3 separate regions of the Homo sapiens genome follow, and all the other regions are linked to region 3. The links are contacts of gene promoters, found by promoter capture Hi-C in blood cells and fetal thymus (Javierre and others, 2016). All regions are on one chromosome and are shown on one strand. The core of a region is centred on a gene start or on the middle of the fragment in contact, and the rest is flanking DNA. Distances in the headings are between cores, read along the strand shown.

Region 1 (3,476 bases), core at 588-3,087, 1.0 Mb before region 3:
ACCAATATGTGAATAAACAGACTGTAACATATCCATGGAGTAGACTACTACTCAGCAACAAAAAGGAATGAACTGCTGGTATACACAAAATGGATGAATCTTAATAATACTGTACTAGAGAAATGAAGCTATATCAAAGCAGTATTTAAGTATGATCCCATTCATAAGGACCTCTTAAAAAGTATACATCTAGTCTATAGTGATAAAAAGGAAATTAGTGGTTGCCTGGTGTTGGTGGTACAGAACTAAATGTTCAAGGACACAAGAGAACATTATAGGATAATGTACATGTAACAGATCTTGATTATAGTGAGGGTAACATGGGTGCATCAATTTGTCCAAACTCATCAAAATATACCCTTAATTTGTGTGCATGTTATTGATTATAAATTACATTTAACTAAGAGACAAAAACACTCCCCACCCTCTTGCCATAAAAAAAAAAGTAACAGCAGTCTTAGAATACAGTTTACCCAATAAAAAAGCTTTTAAAAATATACCAAGGACAAAATGAAATAAAATTATGATGAAAACAGTATGAATAATGAAGACAGCACTACATAAACCCAGAATGATGCTTTTGTGATAATACCAAAAGTCTAAAAGTGCTTCATAACTAGAAACAAAAAACTCCCAATTAGTTTTCCTTTTTTGTTTTGCTTGAGTTGGCCAAAAGGAATAACATGGAAAGTAAAATAGAGATATCCAGAATAATCTAAAACAATATTGTAAAGTAGATTTTGTTCTATTAAAGACACATAAGTCTAAACGAGCATAATGGCTTACCTAGGAGATTGGAGTAAATCACCATGGCTCATTTGGGCTAATAATTGCAAAAAAATACAGAAAGTACTCATGCAAATCAAAATTATTTTCTCATTAATTGCTTTAGCTTTTATGTAATCACATCCTACCTTATAAGAGAATCACTTCGCTTATCAGTTCTAACAAGGAGGACAACTTTCCATCTGTGGAAGGCTCCTGGAGCACCAGTGCGTTTCAGTTCTTCACGCCATCTTTTAGGTGCAGATTGCATTTGAGGTGAATAACGGGAATCTTTTTCAATTTTATATCCCCATTCATAAGTTGTTTCATCAAGCCATCTGCCACTTTTGGCACTATGAATTATATAGTCCTTGGTTAGTATCCACTTTCCTAGAAAGCAAATGAGCTGTCAGTCACAAAGGAATTTTGGTTCTGATAAATGATAAACAATAAAGATCAAATATAAAAGTCAACCTTTTTCAAGATAAGACTCTTAAGCTATGCTGCTAACATTATCTTTGAACTATGCATTTTGGGGAAATTTTCTGATAGTAAGAGGCTTACAATATCACTGAACATTGTATGTAATCTTTTCCATGACAAATAATTATAATTCTAAATATAATTCCATAGCTATAACTTAGTTATAATTACAGTTTCATTTAAATATAATTCTAAATTACAATTTTATAATTCTAAACATAAATCTAAAGCTTTAAAATCCAAAATAAAATGTGGTATTACTGGAATTATTATTACTATCATTATTCACTATTTTGGGTTAGATTTATATTCTTCCTCCTATGCTAACAGCTTTTCCAATATTGTTCACGGCATTATTACTCTGTAAAACAAATTTACTGAGTTAAAGAATTTTTCAGGTCATTTTATAACAACTCTTTTTTTTTTCTTAAGAGATGAGATCTCGCTACGTTGCCCAGGCTGGTCTTAAACTCCTTGGCACAAGTGATCCTTTTGCCTTGGCCTCCCAAAGTGCTAGGATTACAGGCATGAGCCTCCACACCCGACCAACAGTTTCTTTATCTGGGCATCAATGATCTTTTTGAACATTATGGACAATGTATGTTTTCATTTGTAAAGTTAAAAACGAATGCAAGTGTTTTCCTTGTAAGTTAATCCAAAAAGGATAAATTCACCCAAGTTACATATGCTTCTTTTTTTGCAATCAGTAGACTAATGATATGTCAGATCAATCACAGCAGAGAAAGCTATAAAATACAAAACGATAGAGGAGAAGACTAAGTCTTAATTTGGGTCTATAGTATTTAATATCTTAGAAAAATAAAATAGTATGACCATTGCTTCATAATATGGATAGAAGCAGCAGAGAGAACAAAAGCACTGCCTGTATCAAATGACAGATCAAAGAAAACTTGACTGAAAACAGCTGAGACTTTAACAAAAGCTTAAGATTTTGACATTTTGTGCCAGTCTTTTCATTAATGTATTTTTTTTTTGTCTTAAACAAAACACACTAAATCCTTGTTGAGGTAAATATTTCTGCCTATTTAATACATTTTTCATGTGTTACAAAATTTTACTTAGAAGAGTAATAAGCCAAAAAATATATTAAATATTTTCAAAAAATATCAGAAAAACACATTTAGGTTTGATATGTAAATATGCTATCTCTCCAGAGACTAAAATACTTTTGCTTTAACACGAAGATTGTTTTTAAAAGTTGGGGGAAGACAGTTAACTTACCTGCCGCACAAGCTGCTAAAAATTTTTCACTCTTACATAGGCGTTCAGCTATAAGATGTGTACAATTTTTGTATTTCTGGAGGGAAAAATCCACATCAAGAAATGTTACTAAAGTAAGACTCCCTTTATGACACATCCTTTTTATTGCTACAATATCAAGAAGGCATTTTATCATTCTTAGGCCAGTATTTGAATTGTAGTTATTTTTCAAATATATCTTGAACATTTTGATAAGTTTCTTACCTCACTCTTAATAAAAGTGCAATCTAGTTTTAAAAGTAATTTGACTAGCGCTTCTTTTTCTTCCATCTTAAATCCTGTCATCTGGATGATATGCTTTGGGGTACCATCTTCCATCTAACAAATACAAACATACAGAAGATAATGTGTGTTAAAGATATTATTCACAGGGTTGACATTATTTTTTCTTAACTATGAGTACTAAAAATAAACTATTAAACATACAATGAATTAAAGATGTTAGGCACAGCTGTTAAAACAATATTAAAATTACTTATATACGATAGAAACTAGTTTTAAAAGTTATCTTCTCAAAATGTGGCCTTAAGTGAGGGTTTTCTTTCTGATTTGAACATTGAAAGTCTGGATTAATACATTACTTGACACTAAAACACATTGATGAATAAATATACTTCTTCAGAAAATGATAGAATGTTATACAAATACTGGCATAATAATGTTATACAAGCTTCATTTAAAAAGTATTGTTGGGCTGGGTGCAGTGGCTCACGCCTGTAATCCCAGCACTTTGGGAGGCCGAGGCCGGCGGATCACGAGGTCAGGAAATCTAGACCAGCCTGGCCAACATGGTGAAACCCTGCCTCTACTAAAAATATAAAAATTAGCCAGGTGTGGTGGCAGGTGCCTGTAATACTCAGGAGGCTGAGACAGGAGAATTGCTTGAACCCTGGACGCAGTGGTTGCAGTGAGCCAAGATCATGCCACTGCACTCCAGCCTGGGTGAC
Region 2 (3,550 bases), core at 509-3,008, 1.2 Mb before region 3:
ATGGTGAAACCCCGTCTCTACTAAAAATACAAAAAAATTAACCAAGTGTGGTGGCGCACACCTCTACTCCCAGCTATTTGGGAGGCTTGAAGCAGGAGAATCACTTGAGCCCCAGAGGCAAAGGTTGCAGTGAGCCAAGATCGCACCACGGGACTCCAGCTTGAGCTACAGAGTGAGATTCTGTCTCAAACAAAAGTAATTCTAATTGAATCAAATTAGATTTTCTTTTAGTAAAGAGTTGATAACTTATGTAACTGGTTATTGATAGAGGAAATGGAACTATTCCTCAGTAATGGTTATTGCAAATATTTAAGAACCTGTATAAATTGGAGTTATTGAAACAAAACTACAGGACTCCCTATTTTAATTTTTTCTATTCAGTACTCACTCAAGAAACATCCCTATTTAGTATTCAAACAGTGACAAGAATTTTTGGTAATAAATGACATCAAACTATTTGGGTGCTTAGAATTTGAAATTATGCTTTATTCTAATATCTAAGCTTACTGCTCTGGGTTAGAGCCTATCTCTTCTACTTAGATGTGTGCCCCAATATGTTAGATACTACCATTATCTGGCAGTGTTTCTGCTATCACCAGGAGGCCCAGCAAAAGCATATTACTTGCACTGTTTCCCTCCCTCCCTCCCTCCTCCTCTGAGATAAAAATATTCTACCTCAGCCTGGAAAACATAGTGAGATTCTTTCTCTACAAAAAAATTTAAAAATTAGCTGGATGTGGTGGTACATGCCTTGGTCCCAGGTACTCCAGAGGCTAAGGCAGGAGGTTCGCTTCAGCCCAGGAGGTCAGGGCTGTGGTGAGTCATGATCATTGCCACGGCACTGCAGCCTGAGTTAAAAGAGCAAGATCCTGTCTCCAAAGAAAAGAAAAATTTCACTTGACTATAAGCATCATGAAGTCAGGGTCTCCATGTCTGTTGGGATTAGCTCTCTATCCTATGCCTGGCATGGTACCAAGTACAGAGTAGACTCTCAATGAGTTAATGAACTTTTTCTGCAAGTTAAAAAATAATGCAGTGACCTCTCCATGTTATCTCAGTAAATCAAATACAACTACGTAGTGTATTTTTGCCAGTTAAGTAATCAGAATTTACCTCTATTACCTCCTGAAAATGACTCAGAAGGAGTTCACACAGAGATCTTCATGGACTCTGTGTTTCTTGCAGTCTCTCATTTAAAATATGCATGCAAGGGTGTGTGTGTATGTATGTGTGAAAGAGGCTGGCATTTTGGTATTAATCTTTCAAGGTTAATTCAAGATTGTGATTTTGGTTACACTAAGTTCTCAGGGTTAATCTATATTTACATTGCCTTTATTTATCTATATAAACATGGGAATGCATATCACAAAAGGATCCCCCCCAAAAAAATTTTTTTTTGAGACAGGGTCTTGCTCTGTCACCCAGGCTGGAGTGCAGTGGCACAATTTCGCCTCACTGCAGCCTCGACCTCCCAGGCTCAAGTGATTCCCCCACCTCAGCCTCCCGAGTGGTTGGGACCAGAGGCATGCACCCCAAGCCCAGCTAGTTTTTTTTCATACAGACAGGTTCTCACTATGTTGCCCAGGCTGGTCTCAAATTCCTGAGCTTAAGCAATCCTCCTGCCTCAGCCTCCCAAAGTGCTGGGATTACAGGCATGAGCCACTGCACCCAGAAGATCAAATATTTGAATTTGGGACTGTGCTACCATAGCAATATTGTAAGTGATAGTGGTGGTTGAGGTGGCCATTTATTGTGTATAATTGAATCTTTCAAATAACCAAGTATTACTAATCATCTTTTAGAGATAAAGAAGCTGAAGTTTGAATGGAATAAGTAAGGTACACATGGACATACATAATGGTTAGCAAGGTCCAAAACCAGGGGTAGTGGGTTGAAACCAAGGTCTGTCCAAACCCAAGGTGATTGGCTCTATAGCCTGTGTACTTTACCCAATTGCTGTACTGCCTTTCTCTACTACTGTGTTGACTTCCCTGCTTGATAACCCATCCAAAGGAATAAAATAGACACATTTATTTGAACATACTGTCGAGTTAGATACCTTAGATATAATGCACAGATATATTTTAAAGTCTCTTTTAGTGTAGCAATTTTGGTGGAAATTGGCACTTAAGAAAAATTATACTTAGTCTATCAGTAGTTTAGAAGTTATTCATGACCTTCCTATTACTGGAAAATACTCAACTGGTTTGGCTATTTATATAGAGTGAAACTGTTCTCTTATGTATATTATGTACTCTATCCTGTAAATCAAAATGAATATCACTTAATCTGAAACATAATGTAGGCCCAACACAGTGGCTCATGCCTATAATCCCAGCGCTTTAGGAGGCTGAGATAAGGAGATCTCTTGAGCCTGGAAGTTCAAGACCAGCCTGGGCATCATGGAAAGACCCTGTCTCTATTTAAAAAAAAAATTAACCAGGCATGGCGGTGTACGCCTGTAGTCTCAGCTACTTGAGAGGCTGAGATGGGAGGATTGCTTGAGCCAGGAGGTTGAAACTATTTTGAGACCCTGTCTCAAAAACAAAAACCAAAAATGTAGACAAATAATGTGGTTAAAAGTGTAAAAAGTGACACTATGGAGCCCCCACAGCAACTAGTCTGGGTCTCCAAGTAGTCTTGAAAATACATGGAAAAGAGAAGGCATGTCTGTGACACGGCCTGGCAAGGAAATGGGTAACTCCGTGTCCTCCTGGTGGGAGTGGAAACTGTACAATCTCTTTTGGAAGGCGATTTGGCAGTAAGTACCAAAATTACAAAAACACAAATCCTTTGGCCAAACAATTCCACTTCTTGTAGTAGAAGTTTATACTACAGATACACTCACACAGGTCAATTATCACATAGACAAGGTGTTCTTTGCTACTACTTTTTTTGTGGTAGCAAAAAACTGATAAAGAACCTAAACATCTATTAAGGGAAAACGGATTAAATAAATAATGGTACATCAATACCATAGGTCATGATGAAGCTGGAAGAATGAGGAAGCTTTTCAACACTGATATGGAACAATCTCTAAGAAACATGGTTAAATAAGAAAAAAAAGCATGGAAATATTTATCATATGCTACTATTTGTGCCTTAAAAATGAAAGAAAGAGACTAGGCATGATGCCTCACTCACATCTGTAATCCCAGCACTTTGGGAGGCCGAGGTGGGAGGATTGCTTTAGGCCGGGAGTCTAAGACCTACCTGGACAAAATAGTGAGATCCTATCTCTCCAAAATGTACAAAAATTCGCCAGGTGTAGTGGCACAGCCTATAGTCCCAGCTACTTGGGAGGCTGAAGTGGGAGGATTACTTTAGGCCCAACAAATGTATATGTTCAATATAACAGATTCCAGATCAGGCCTGACTTCTTCATTGAATCCCATCATCTGACACAGTGTTTGACACATAGTAACCACATGATTAACAGTAACACAAAGATTAATAAGTGGAAAAGATACTAGAAAGATATACCCTAAAATGTTAATAATGTTTACCAGAGTTTTTTTTACTCTATGTTTGTGTTTATTTTCCAAGTTTT
Region 3 (3,818 bases), core at 651-3,150:
AAGGAGCCAAGAGAAGGGCTGCTGGCAACTGATAATCAAAGGCGACTGACTGGTCAGAGCCCTGAATCGGGGGGAGAGAAAATGGGAGGCTAAGGTTAGCCAAGCCTCCTGCACGCCATTGGTTGGAGAGCCCCTCCCCCCTCCTCTTTTGCTTTCTTTCTCCCCCCCCCGCTTAGCTACCTACAGACTGGGATGGTGTGGGGAGGAGGAGAGAAAGTGAGGGAGGGGGGTGTGTTTCTGACAAGCGCAATTTACATTGAGATCGCCCTGCGCTGCTATTTACTCTGAGACCTGATTAGTATGGGTCGTCTATGGTCACACACACACACACATACACACACACACACTTACGCTCACACCCCAGAGGGGGAAGGGATGACGAGGGGGAGAACGCCTAGCGATGGGCAAAAGGAGAATTAGAGGGAAATTATTTTGATTTCTTCTGAAAAGTTTTTAAAATTAGATTTTATGAGCGTGAAGAGAGTGTCATTGAAAATGTTTGGAAAAATTTTTAATGGGAATGAAACCCCCACCATTTTAATGATTTGTGAAATATACTGGATTTGGATTGTTTTCTTCTCTCACATATAAGCACAATCCAAGTCTGGATTCTGCTCATTTTATATCCTTTTTAGAAACAAGTAGAAACAGGGTAGGATCTCCCTATTTTTTAATCCAAAGTATACCTTGGTTTAAAAGGTTTAATGATGACAAAGCACACTCCTGGAATTTGCAGCTATTGCCACAAATTCGATCGGAATCAAGGGTTCCTATTTATCCCAAAGATGATTTTAAAAATAAACTTTCCAATCAATCCAATTTTTCCTTCTTCTTTTTTTTTTTTTTTATCACCTGGCTGTTCCAAACTCCAACAATGCTTCAATCATTATTAATAAAACAGTAGTAAGTCCCCATATTGTTGCAGGGTGGGGGGAGATTAGTGTGGCCAAGTCAGTCCCGGGAAAAGAGCAAACAAACGAGAAGATGGAGAGGGGGGGAGGCGGAGAGGGAGAGAGAAAAGGGGGAGGAGGAGAGAGAGAGACAGAGAGAGAGGAGAGGAAAGGAAAGAGAGGAGAGAGGAGAGCGCGCGAGATATTGAGAGAGAGAGAGAGAGAAGAGAGGAGAGGGGAGAGAGAGAGAGAGGAGAGAGAGAGAGACCCAGAGAGAGAGGAGAGAGAGAGAGACCCAGAGAGAGAGAGAGAGAGAGAGACCCAGAGAGAGAGAGAGAGACCGAGAGAGAGAGGAGAGAGGAGAGAGAGAGAGAGGAGAGAGAGAGAGAGAGGAGAGAGAGAGAGAGAGAGACGAGAGGGAGAGGGAGAGGGAGAGGGAGAGGGAGAGGGAGAGGGAGAGGGAGAGAGGAGAGGGAGAGGGAGAGGGAGAGGGGGAGAGAGAGAGAGAGAGAGAGAGAGAGAGAGAGAGAGAGAGAGAGAGAGAGAGAGAGAGAGAGAGACCGAGACCCCGATTCCTGAATCCTGAAGGTGATTGGTCGCGGGAGGAGGGGCAGGCGGGAGGAGCGGGTCCCGCGGCGGGGCTTGCAGGAATCGCTGGCTCCGGCTGCCACCTAGCGGACGGGAGCCGCTCCCGGGCGGCACACAGCCGAGTCCCTCCTCCCCTCCCCGCAGGCAGCCTGTGCCTTTTCTCCAAACGAAGACAGCACTTTGAAAATTCTTTCAATGGATTTTTTTTTCCTTGAAAGATCGTACTGGGGGAAAATGATACTTCTATTAGTTACATATTCTCCAATCGCATACTCGCACCCCCCTCGTTTTGAGATCGCTCCCCTAGGCAGGCTCAGGCGGGCGCGGAGCCGCGCGGAGTGACAAAGCCGCCGCTGCCGCCGCCGGGGGTGGGAGCCGCGCTCGCCCGCCCGCCCCTCGACTCGCGAGGGCGTAAAAGTTTGTCTCAGCTCGAGCATTCCTAGCGCCAACACGCCCTCAGGTAAAGGTGGAAGTAAATGGCCACGCTGTATTGACAGAGGTAGGGTTTGTTTTTTAATACTCGTTCTCACTTTAAGTCTCACCAGGGAGGGGTTTGGGAAGCACTGCGTGTTTGGGGGACGTTTTGCGCTTCCTGGTCTCTCCAGCCTACAAGTCGGGAGTCGGCGACCGCTTAGTGACGAGCGATGATTTTAAAGAGCAGAATAAAAGGTTTTCCCGTGCCTGCCCCACAGCCCCTCCAGCTCGAATAATGGAGAACTGTCAATGCACTCCGCGAGCGGTGGCCCATTGTACGCAGCTGATGGCGAGGAGGCGACTGGGGGTAGCAGGGGCTCCTTGCCCTCGTCCCTATGCCCAAATAAACGCGCAAACGCGCTCCCGTCTTCTGGTCAGTTAAAAGGTGAAACGAACACGATTAAAATAGACCAAAAGAAAAGAAAGAAAAGAAAACCTTTCTATGTACAGATTCTAAATCGTACTCCCCATACAGTCAGAGGCAGGGAGTCGAGGGCAGAGGCAGCAGGCGGAGAGAGGGAGATAGGGCGAGGGAAGGAGAACGCGGAGAGAGACGAAGGGAGTGGGAGACCAGCGACAGCGAGCGCCAGGGCACCGCAGGCACACTGGATGCCCAGTCCGCCGGCCCAGCCGCCCTCGGACCCTGGACCGTGCGTCGTGGGCACCAGAAACGAGACTCGGCCAAATCCTGCCTCACCAGGCAAGTAACATAATGGTTGTCGTTTCTCTTGAACTTGGGGTTGGTAACGGGCAGGGCCGGGAGGCAGTCTTGGCTCGCACGGCCTCCGCAGGCCGAGAGCAGAGTCTAGGCAGCCAGGGCGGGACGAGGAGAACTTTCTTCGGGGCCTGCTCGGGAGTTGCCCTCGCTCGGCCTCTGTCTCGCCGTAGCGCTAAGGCGAGGATCGCGGCCGCCGCGCCTCCTTGGAGGGGAGGATCGTGCCAGGCGAGCAGCAATCCACATTCAAAACAGGCTGCTCCCACCCCCACCCGCTATTCCCTCTCTCTCCTAGGCGGGAAACGGATGCCCGGGCGGAGGACGGGGACCCGCACGTTTAACACCGGCCCGGCTGTTCCTGCTGGTGCCGAGCGCGACCCGCGGTGGAGCCGGCTGCAGAGTCCGGCCCGGCTGGCCCTTGTGCCCGCGCCTTGCCTGGTTACGGCCTGAACCTGGCGAGCTTGGCTGCAGCCGCCCACCTGCGGACGCCGTTTGTAACGCCATCCCCTAATGTAACGCGATCGATGGCTGCCTGTCTGATGTGGGCGATAGTGTCAGCGGATTAAAAGGGACATCGAGCCGCTCTCCCGAGCAGACAACCTGCGGCGGCGGCGAGAGAGCACCGGGATTCGCAGCCTAGCAGCCGAGCCAGACTCCCTGCGCCGCTGCCAGCCGGCTGGGGGCGGGGAGGGGGTCGCCTCCCAGGGGTGGGGACAGAGGGGGTGTGTTGAAAGGAAGAGGCTCAATTAAAACCAACAAGAGCGCTTTCCTCCGTGCGGGGCAGGGGCGTGCGTTTGCGTCAGAGGGCGCGCGGGGGGCGGGGGCAGCCGATGCTGGGGACTGCACCCGGGGGCTGGGGGGTCTCGGAAGCGAGGAGGCCTTGCCTAGCTGGGCTGGCCCGGGGTCAGGCCCTGTAGGTGAGGGCCAAGGCGAGACGGGATGACAGCTGAGCCTGCCCGGGAGCAGAGGCGCCCACCCATCCTTACTGTGGGCTCTCCGTGCCCCCACAGAGCTTTCAAACTTGAAAGAGGCCCCTGGGACCCGGCGTGACCCTAGCGGTGGGGAGAAGTTGGGCCCGCGAGGCCTCAGGCGAAGCCGCGGGCTCCTCCGGAAGGAAGGAGGAGGGTGAAGTCCCCTGTCCTAGTCCCAGG

The links. Contacts are between HindIII fragments. The CHiCAGO score rates a contact against its expected background, and 5 or more counts as called.
Region 1: a fragment that was not itself captured here is called in contact with the fragment with the promoter of NR2F1-AS1 in region 3 in 1 of 17 cell types (total B cells); the score reaches 6.8 in total B cells.
Region 2: a contact is called between a fragment that was not itself captured here and the fragment with the promoter of NR2F1-AS1 in region 3, in 10 of 17 cell types (total B cells, total CD4 T cells, fetal thymus and 7 more). The highest score is 10.6, in total B cells.

Annotation. Positions count from the first base shown.
Region 1 is chr5:94,628,182-94,631,657 of GRCh38, reverse strand. It overlaps SLF1 (SMC5/6 complex localization factor 1), which reads right to left. Exons shown (of 21, transcript NM_032290.4): 2 at 2,734-2,847; 3 at 2,491-2,566; 4 at 915-1,155. The coding sequence starts at 2,847. Among named protein-coding and RNA genes, the nearest start is that of SLF1, 11 kb to the right of the region's middle. The HindIII fragment of the contact is 713 bases long and covers 1,481-2,193 here.
Region 2 is chr5:94,734,331-94,737,880 of GRCh38, reverse strand. All of the region lies in intron 19 of MCTP1 (multiple C2 and transmembrane domain containing 1), which reads left to right. Among named protein-coding and RNA genes, the nearest start is that of SLF1, 120 kb to the right of the region's middle. The HindIII fragment of the contact is 2,507 bases long and covers 505-3,011 here.
Region 3 is chr5:93,579,301-93,583,118 of GRCh38, reverse strand. NR2F1-AS1 (NR2F1 regulatory antisense RNA 1) reads left to right here and starts at 1,900. Exons shown (of 8, transcript NR_186187.1): 1 at 1,900-1,977. RefSeq lists a silencer at 1,455-1,504 and an enhancer at 1,625-1,724. The HindIII fragment of the contact is 7,751 bases long and covers 1-3,818 here.